Linked DNA regions of Homo sapiens: region 2 is linked to region 1. The links are contacts of gene promoters, found by promoter capture Hi-C in blood cells and fetal thymus (Javierre and others, 2016). All regions are on one chromosome and are shown on one strand. Each heading gives the region's core, a stretch centred on a gene start or on the middle of the fragment in contact. The rest is flanking DNA. Distances are from core to core; before and after follow the strand shown.

Region 1 (4,607 bases), core at 1,800-4,299:
AGAAGTCTGAAGTTCGCGTCCTTAGGGGACCACGCCCCCTTAGGAGCTTTATCTTTGTGGGACCTGGGTCATCAGCTGAAAAGCCTTGTCGTCAATCCCTGAAACTCCACCTGCTTATATTTTCCTGTCCTTTCTCTTTTTGGGCCTTGGGATCAGTTTTCCGAGCACTCTCGTGCTCCCCCAGGTGGGAAGTCAAAGTTCCCATCTCTGGCTGTAAGGAGTGAGATTAAAGGCAGCCGTTTTCCGTTTTCCTTTCTATCTTTTTTTTTTTTTTTTTTTTTTTTAAGACGGAGTTTCGCTCTTATCGTCCAGGCTGGAGTGCAATGGTGCGATCTCGGCTCACTGCAACCTCCGCCTCCTGAGTTCAAGTGATTCTCCTGCCTCAGCCTCCTGAGTAGCTGGGATTACAGGCGCCCACCACCACGCCCGGCTAATTTTTGTATTTTTAGTAGAGACGGGGTTTCCCCATGTTGGCTAGGCTAGCCTCGAACTCCTGACCTCAGGTGCTCCACCCTTATCAGCCTCCTTAAGTGTTAGGATTACAGGCGTTAGCCACTGCGCCCGTCCCCGTTTTCCTCTTTCTTAACCTCCTCCAAGGGTAGAACTATTTGAAAGGGCTGAACGTGGGGTTTGGCACGAGAGGGAGAGAGAGACTTGCCCTCAGACTCCCAGCCTCACTTCCTGGCTTTCCCTTCCCAGGACCAACCTCATCCCAGAAGTAGCTCTAGGCCTTCCTAGACATAAGTGGATAAGACCATGGATTTGTTGGTGTGTGGCATGTGGGTGTGACATGAGCAAAAGTTTTCTACTACCAGAAGAACGGTAGTTTGGAGTGGGGGTAGATAATAGTGCTCTTTTTGTTGTTTGATTTTTTTTTTTTTAAGGGACAGTTCAGTCGCTACTTCTCTGTCTCTTCCCCTCCCCCTAACCAGAGTTCTTGTCTGGGCATTCCTCCTGGCCCCGTTTGCCCAGCCTTCCCTGCTGGAAACATTCCTGAGGCTTTCGCCATTTCCTGCCACTTCCCGCCCCTGTCCCCTCCTCCCAGTTGGGCTGCGAAGCCACACACAGCTTTTCCCCTACACCCAATCACCTGGACTTCCAGTAGGCAATCTCCTTTCTCCCTATGTAAATTTCAAGAGTCATACGTCTTTCTTTTCTTCCGAACGCCCACACCCGTTGGTCCTTCCCTGGCTCTGGATACTGTAGGCTCCCACAGAACATCATCTCTACAGATGAGGGACATCCTAGTGTGTGTTTGTGTGTTTTGGGGGTGTGAGGCTATGGTGGAATCCTTTCCTCATTCTCTCTATGCCCGAGAGCTGGCTGGAAATGAAGTGATAAAATTCCTTCTCAGGATTGGCTGGCAGAGTGACAAAGCTCTTCTGGAATGAGCACTAAGGGGAGATGTAAGAGTTAAGCACAGCATCTAACACACTTCAAGTGTTAATGTTGTTAATCAGGATAATTATCTATCTATATTTTAATTCTCTGAAGTAAATCTAAGGGTAATTCCAAGGTGAGCTGGGGGGAATACGTATTTTTTTTTTTTTGAGACGGAGTTTTGCTCTTGTCACCTAGGCTGGAGTGCAATGGCTCGATCTCGGCTCACTGCAACCTCCGCCTCCTGGGTTCGAGCGATTCTCCTGCCTCAGCCTCCTGAGCTGGGATTACAGGTGCCCGCCACCACGCCCAGCTAATTTTTGTATTTTTAGTAGAGACAGGGTTTCACCATGTTGACCAGGCTGGTCTCGAACTCCTGACTTCAGGTGATCCACCCGCCTCAGCCTCCCAAAGTGCTGGTATCACAGGTGTGAGCCACCGCGCCCGGTAGGAATACGTATCTTTGTTTTTTTTTTTTTGGTCACTTTCCAGCTTTGCCTGTGGCATTCTCCGGAAGAGCAGTGGCAGGAAGCCGTGGGTGGCAGGAATGGGTTTGGGACTGTTCCCTGTGTCCAGCTTCAACCCATCTTCTCCTGACACCCCTTTCTCCTGTACTTATTTTTCTCCTGTCCTTATTGACGCAGATGTGTCTTCTGATCTCTCTGTCCCTTCCTGGCCTGTAGTTTCTACTTCTCTTGGAGAACTGTTTCTTCCACCTCCTCCAGCCAGGCTCCTTCCCTGGTGTGAAGGATGCTGTGCTCTTTGGTGGGGCTTAGGGCCCTGTAAGAGGAGGGATGTGAATTGGGGTGGTTTGGAGTGGGAGTGGGGACCTGATTGCCTCATTCTCACCCTTGACAGTGTGCTGTGTTAACAAGCCCTGTGGAAAGGGGAGACAGGACAGTGCTTGGCTATGAGCCATCGGTCTTGGTGTGGTAGATGGCATACGTAGAGAACAAGCCGTGACCAGCATGTCCTCTTGTTCCCTTCTTGCCTGGTAGCTTCCTGATGTATCATCCAGGTTGAACTTTATTCCCCTTTTTTCACCAGCTTTGCTCTTCCTCTTGGCCCTGCTCTGCATCCATTGGGACCACTTACTTCCCATCCCCACTTCGCTAGCTCCAGTCCACAGCTGCTGTAGCAGAGGATGCTAATGGCCCAGGCTTACTGTATGGGGTAGCGGTTGGGGGTGGCCTGGGCTGGGGCCAGCCAGCTTTCGGGCATAGAGAGGGTGGGGGAATTCGAGTGTCCAACCAGGACAGGAAGGGAAATGCTGAGCTCTGAGATCTCCTCCCTTTTCCACCCCCAGCTGCCTCTGTTTCCTCCCTCATTCCCCTGTACTCCTGCCTGGCTTCCTGCCCCCTTTGGCCTGCGTGTGTCCGGTTTTGAGTGACCCAGACCTCCTATCTCCTTCCTTTCCGTCCCACTCTTCCATCCTTCCCTCCCACCCCCACTTTACTTCTCCCCAGATTACTAGTTGTTTGTATAGGGCAGGGGAGAGGGGCTTGGATAGCCCTACCCCCTGCTCCAGTTCGAGGTTGGGGCGGGGTGGGGGCTCAGCCCCTCTGAGCCTGTGAGTCAGCACTGTCCTCACGATTGGTCTCTCCCCTTAGCTCCCCGCCCCTGGGGAGGAGCCAGAAGCGCTGGGTCCAGCCTGTTCTCTTCTCAGCCAGAGAAGAGGCTCCACGTTGGGCGGGGATGGGGCCTGAAACTGTCTGGGTCTGAGCTGGGGAGCGGAAGCCACTTGTCCCTCTCCCTCCCCAGGACTTCTGTGACTCCTGGGCCACAGAGGTCCAACCAGGCTAAGGGCCTGGGGATACCCCCTGCCTGGCCCCCTTGCCCAAACTGGCAGGGGGGCCAGGCTGGGCAGCAGCCCCTCTTTCACCTCAACTATGGATCTCCTGCCCCCCAAGCCCAAGTACAATCCACTCCGGAATGAGTCTCTGTCATCGCTGGAGGAAGGGGCTTCTGGGTCCACCCCCCCGGAGGAGCTGCCTTCCCCATCAGCTTCATCCCTGGGGCCCATCCTGCCTCCTCTGCCTGGGGACGATAGTCCCACTACCCTGTGCTCCTTCTTCCCCCGGATGAGCAACCTGAGGCTGGCCAACCCGGCTGGGGGGCGCCCAGGGTCTAAGGGGGAGCCAGGAAGGGCAGCTGATGATGGGGAGGGGATCGTAGGGGCAGCCATGCCAGACTCAGGCCCCCTACCCCTCCTCCAGGACATGAACAAGCTGAGTGGAGGCGGCGGGCGCAGGACTCGGGTGGAAGGGGGCCAGCTTGGGGGCGAGGAGTGGACCCGCCACGGGAGCTTTGTCAATAAGCCCACGCGGGGCTGGCTGCATCCCAACGACAAAGTCATGGGACCCGGGGTTTCCTACTTGGTTCGGGTGAGTGAACATCCTCCTCTCCATTCCCCCGCAGACCCCCTCCAGTTCTAATGCTCACTCCAGCTTGGCCGGAATCTCTTTTTTCCTGCTGTTCCCCAACAACCCCGTTTCAGTGTCCTATTTCCTAAACCTTTCTCATCCCTTCCCCGATTCTGTAGCCCCTTCCCTTCCAGCTTTGCCTGGGCCCCCTTCCTTCTTTTCACTCCCCCACCCCCACCCTGGCATGCTTAGCACAATGCCCAGCATGGCAGAAGCTCTTAATAAGTGTTGGAATGAATGACTTCTTGATCTTTCCTCCATTCTCCTCCCGCTTTCTGGAGTTGTCACTCCATCCCAGCCAATGCCTGTCGGTCCCCTCCAAACTCTCTCCCCAGTGTGTGAGGTCCTTCTAGCCTGCCTTTTCTTTTTCTCCTCATTCCCTGTTGTCTTTCACCTTGGTTGTGGGATGTAGCCACGGGAAGTGGGCAGAACTTCTTCCTCTTTACTTCCCTTAGGGACCATATGGGTAAAGTCCTAGGGCCCTTTGTGAAGGGGCTGGGGTGGGGGAGCCGCTGACCTGCTGTCCTCTTCTCCCTCCCCTTAGTACATGGGTTGTGTGGAGGTCCTCCAGTCAATGCGTGCCCTGGACTTCAACACCCGGACTCAGGTCACCAGGTTAGTGGGGAGGGAGTGGATTGTGGGAGTCCTGGGATTAGTGAGGCCATGGGAAACAGAGGAGGGGAGTGGGTCACTTGGGTGCTGCTGCTGGGGGCTGATCTTTGCGTAGTAAAGGGGATTGAGAGAAAGCTGAGGTAGTGATTCCGCCTCTTACTGAAAGGAGGCCCCTTTGGCCCGGATCCTCCT
Region 2 (5,021 bases), core at 962-3,461, 1.0 Mb after region 1:
CTACTCCTGCCCCTCTATTTCTGCTCAGCTTGCTCTTTGATGACTTCTGCCTTGACCCGTTCTCTTCCTGGCATGCACATGCTCTGGCCCAGCAGGTACGGTGCCCATACTTACTTCGGGCCCCGTGCTCGCTTCTGTCGCTCTGCTTGCTGCCACCTCCCTCTGTCATTGCCTCTGTTCCTGGGGTGGATGAAGGTTGCTGGGCAAAGGGGATATGTTAGCAGGGCTAGGCAGGACACCAGTTCTAAATCCTACTTCCTAAAGATTTGTCTGTATGTCTATAGCTGGAGCAGTTCAGCATGGAGAGCCCATCAGCCAGCCTGGTGCTGGATCCCCCTGGCTTTTCTGAAGGGCCTGGATTTTTAGGGGGTGAGGGGCCAATGGGTGGCCCCCAGGATCCCCACACCTTCAACCACCAGAACTTGACCCACTGTTCCCGCCATGGCTCAGGGCCTAACATCATCCTCACAGGTGAATGGGGGTGGGTGGTGATGGGAAATGGAAGGAGGAAGTGACACATTCACTAATGAGTAGGAGATTGAGGGGTCTTGGAAAAGTTTACAGGACATGGGGTCCTCACCTGTCTCTTCTACCCACAGGGGACTCCTCTCCAGGTTTCTCTAAGGAGATTGCAGCAGCCCTGGCCGGAGTGCCTGGCTTTGAGGTGTCAGCAGCTGGATTGGAGCTAGGGCTTGGGCTAGAAGATGAGCTGCGCATGGAGCCACTGGGCCTGGAAGGGCTAAACATGCTGAGTGACCCCTGTGCCCTGCTGCCTGATCCTGCTGTGGAGGAGTCATTCCGCAGTGACCGGCTCCAATGAGGGCACCTCATCACCATCCCTCTTCTTGGCCCCATCCCCCACCACCATTCCTTTCCTCCCTTCCCCCTGGCAGGTAGAGACTCTACTCTCTGTCCCCAGATCCTCTTTCTAGCATGAATGAAGGATGCCAAGAATGAGAAAAAGCAAGGGGTTTGTCCAGGTGGCCCCTGAATTCTGCGCAAGGGATGGGCCTGGGGGAACTCAAGGGAGGGCCTAAAGCACTTGTAACTTTGAACCGTCTGTCTGGAGGTCAGAGCCTGTTGGAAAGCAGGGGTAGAGGGGAGCCCTGGAAGCAGGGCTTTTCCGGATGCCTAGGGGTGGGCAGTGCCAGCCCCTCCTCACCACTCTTCCCCTTGCAGTGGAGGAGAGAGCCAGAGTGGATACTATTTTTTATTAAATATATTATTATATGTTAATAAAAAAATCATATCAAACCCTTGGTGTGGTTAGTTATTTGGGGCATGGCTGGGGATCTAGGGAGTTATAGGGCCATGGGTCTTTTTATCTATTAGGCTTTTTGCATCTTCTTAGCACCACTGTGCTTTGTGGAAGGGCCCCACAGCCTCGGAATTTGTACCCAGCTGGATGTAGGCTTCCACGGCAGCAGGAAATCACTTCATGTGCCCTCCTGTCTGTCCAGGGCCCTGCTGCAGCATCAGATGGGGGCTTTGACTGATCAGACAAGTTATTCCTCTTCCTCAACCCTAGGTCTGGCAGTGAGTCGGGTAAGGAGGTGATTGCTGGCTGAGCCCACAGGTCTGAAGTGCTCCTAGGTCTCAGGGAAGCAAGCCTTCATCCTCACTCCCTCACTATGCATGCATTCACTTCACCCTCTCCACTCTTCACCACTCATTCATTTTAGTTTTAATTAAACAGATCCTTCAGTGCCATGCATGTTCTGAAGGTTTTCTCTTTCTGGATTGGGTTGCCAGCCCTTGGACCAGCCGTGTGGGCCTCTGCACCCCTCACTCCCCCAACCCGCATAGTGAGAAAAGTAGAGCCCCGCAGTTACCTTACCCCCACCTCCACTGCTCTATTCCACACCCTGCAGTCCTGGCCTCTCTTCCTCTTTCCAAAGCTCTTGTCATTTTCAAAAAAGAGAACTGAGAGCTTCTGGTTCTGGTCCAAAGGGAATGCCCTGTGCCCTAAACCTGGAAGTAGGGGGAGCCACCTGGGTCCCCGTAGACTAGACCTTCGGGACTTCACCTGCGCCCACATCATGCTTGCCACATCTGACTGCAGGACCCAGGCGGGAAGGGAGCGCGCCGCGGCCCTCTGGGTCGCCTGGGGTCAGTGTCCTGAGGCACGGGCTGGATGGTGGGAAGCTACCTGGGTGCAGGGGGCCCTCCCAGCCGCCAGGGGTCGGGCTGCAGGCGGCTGGGCTTTGGGCAGACGCTTGCCAGGGTCACGGCCGCCGGCCGAGGAGGAGGGGTGGGGGTAGCGGCGGCGCCCGCGGCCCGGAGCGGGGGTTGGGGGAGTAGAGAAAGCGGGGCGCGCGGAGGAACGCTGGGTCCCCGGCGCCGCGGGAGCTGGGAGGACCGAGCCGGCCGAGCGAGCAGCGCGGCAGCACAGTCCCCGCGTGGCGCAGCGCGGCGGGGACGCGGGGACCGCCCGGATCTCCTTCCACTGCGCCCCGCGCTCTGCGGTCCTCGGCCGCCTCTTCTTCCTTCACTCACTGCCCGGGCGGGAGCGGCGCCCAAGTCGGGTGCGCCATGTCTGGGGCCGGGTAGCCCCGCCGCCCGCCGGCCCGCCAGCTCGCCCTCCGAGCCACCCGCCAGCGGGCCGGCCGGCCGGGAAGCGCGGGACAGGCAGGTAGGGGCTGGACCGGGCTGGGCGGCAGGCGGGGACGGGCAGGAGGGAGCGCGGGCGGCAGGCGGGGTGGGGGATGGCCCCCAGCTGCTGTCCCTCACTGCACATCTGGTTCCGGTTCCTCTCTCCTGGGGAAGTGAAAGTGGAGGGGAGGGCACCTCCCGCAATTAGCTCGCCGTGCCCGGCCTCCTGCACCCCCTTCTGCTCCCGTGGGTGCCGGAGTCGGAGCCGCCCTCCCTCCCGCTTGGGTCACGCGGCGGCCGGCGCTGCTGCCGTCACGTCCTCGGCCGCCGGCGCGCCTGCTTCTCTGCCCTCCTGCTCCTTCCTCAGCCTCCTCCCCCTCGGCGCGCCCTCTGCCCCAACCCGAACTTCCCGTCACCCGGCACGCGGGCGTGGGGACCCGGAGTGGGCCCTGTGCCCGTTGTCTTCCCTAGGGAGAAAGGGCTGCTTTCTGCAGGACTCTTCCCTGGCTTGGTGAGGGGAGGCCCCGGTGCGCAGGTCCTGCGGATGGGTGCCACCCACTTGCCCCTCAGAAGGTCCCACCTAATGGCCTCTGCCTGCTGCCTTGGGCATAGGGCTCCCATTCGCCCTCAGTGGATGAGGGACAGGTCTGTGCCCCAGAATTAAATCAAGAGGCTGACGCTGACTCCTGGCTTTACCTCCCAGAAGTGGAGTCTAAATTTAGCTGGGGTTGGTGTGTGTACGTGTGTGCGTGTGTGTGTGCGTGTGTGTGTGTGTGTGTGTGTCCAGAGGCCAGGTGATGAAGAAAGCCAGCCTGGCTCTATGAGATTCCTTATTCCCTGTTCTCTGGGGGAACAGCAGGAGGTTAGCAGGACTGCACATCCTGGAACCATTCTGAGCCTCCTCTGCCTTGCTCAGGATCCTATAGTCTGAGATTCCAACTTGGCGTAATGCTGTGCTGGCACCTTCAATGGTAACCCCACCACCGCCACCGCCACCACACACACCCATAGGCTGACTTCCTCTGAGTTGCAGCTTCCCCTCCACTGTTTCAGGAAGTAACCTCCCTTCCCCTCTGAAGCACCCCCCACGCTTCTGGGCCCCTGCTGCGAGCTACCCACCAGGCTTTTTCCCAGCTTCTGCACCCTGGGGCGCCTCAGGACCCTTGGGGCTCCTACTCCCCGGGGTTGGGCCATGGAGGCAGGTGAGAACTAGGCTGTTGTGGGCCTGTTTCTGTCTCTGGGCTCCATGGTGGAGGGTGTGGGATGGCCGGGACTTGTCTCTCACAACTGCTTTGGATCTAACGAGCTACCTAAGGATCCTGGAGGTGTGAGAACACTGGATTTTGGGCCAGATTGGTGGAGTTAAGCTAGGAGAAAGGACACTTGGGTTCGTTGAAAAGACTCTTAAAGCTTGGGTTTTGTGGGCTTTCTCAGAAACCCATGGGGTCCTCTTAAAAACCTAGGAGTGGGCTCTTTAAGAACATTGGCAGGATCACAAGGTTCTTATGGTGTCATAACTAGAGTAGGAAGGTCAGAAACCCTTGAAAAGACTGTAAGGTTGGTATGATGTCATGGCCAGCATGAATGATGTCATGGAAGGCTATTACAAAAAAGATTGTGATCTCTGTGATGTTATAACTGGTGAGCCTTTAAAAGGGACACATGGACAATGTGAATGTCATAGCTCAGGTTAGCTGTGTGTGGTGGAGTTTAGGTTCTTTGAGGGGAGTGCCAGGACCATTAAGTGGGAGGGATCTGGTCTCTTTAAGAAGCTGTGGTGGGCAGTGATGTCACAGGGGGAAGAGTTCAGGATTGGCCGACCCCTTATCCTGCCTTTCTTTGGAAGGACTAGGAAGAGGAGGGGAGCAAGAGGGTACCCTGGTTGCCATGGCATCCCCAGCCTTCCTTGCTTCATCTCTCTCCCACTTGACCATTCCAGATGCAGTGAGTGAGGGGGGGGCCATGGCGGAGGAGCGGCCCCCCCGGCTGGTGGATTACTTCGTGGTAGCTGGGCTTGCAGGGAACGGAGCACCCATCCCTGAGGAAACGTGGGTTCCTGAACCCAGTGGGCCCCTGCGCCCTCCCCGGCCAGCTGAGCCCATCACAGATGTGGCAGTCATCGCTAGGGCACTGGGCGAGGAAGTGCCCCAGGGCTACACATGCATCCAGGCTTCTGCTGGGGGCCACCCCTTGGAACTCAGTGCTGGACTTCTGGGTGGAACTCAACCCGTCATCTGCTACCGCAGGGGCCGTGACAAGCCCCCCCTCGTTGAGCTGGGGTGTGTGCCCCTACCCATGCTGGCACCAGGGGAGGCTGGGAGGGACTCCAGTGAGACAGGGAGAGGTAGGACTATGGAACAAGGGAAGGGCAATGGGGATGGGAGCCTGGTGGGCCAGGGGCCAGGAAGGAAGGACTGAAGTTGTATGTA

What was found. Contacts are between HindIII fragments. The CHiCAGO score rates a contact against its expected background, and 5 or more counts as called.
Region 2: the fragment with the promoter of DENND4B here is called in contact with the fragment with the promoter of SHC1 in region 1 in 1 of 17 cell types (total CD4 T cells); the score reaches 5.3 in total CD4 T cells.

The regions. Positions count from the first base shown.
Region 1 is chr1:154,969,189-154,973,795 of GRCh38, reverse strand. SHC1 (SHC adaptor protein 1) reads left to right here and starts at 3,049. Exons shown (of 12, transcript NM_001130040.2): 1 at 3,049-3,764; 2 at 4,348-4,418. The coding sequence starts at 3,270. RefSeq lists enhancers at 3,171-3,721, 3,722-4,272. The HindIII fragment of the contact is 11,130 bases long and covers 1-4,607 here.
Region 2 is chr1:153,943,908-153,948,928 of GRCh38, reverse strand. DENND4B (DENN domain containing 4B) reads left to right here and starts at 2,211. Exons shown (of 28, transcript NM_014856.3): 1 at 2,211-2,628; 2 at 4,532-4,871. The coding sequence starts at 4,555. It overlaps CRTC2 (CREB regulated transcription coactivator 2), which reads left to right. Exons shown (of 14, transcript NM_181715.3): 13 at 285-471; 14 at 600-1,254. The coding sequence ends at 820. RefSeq lists enhancers at 1,640-1,709, 2,521-3,021, 3,490-3,539, 3,860-3,959 and a silencer at 2,100-2,999. The HindIII fragment of the contact is 4,483 bases long and covers 1-4,004 here.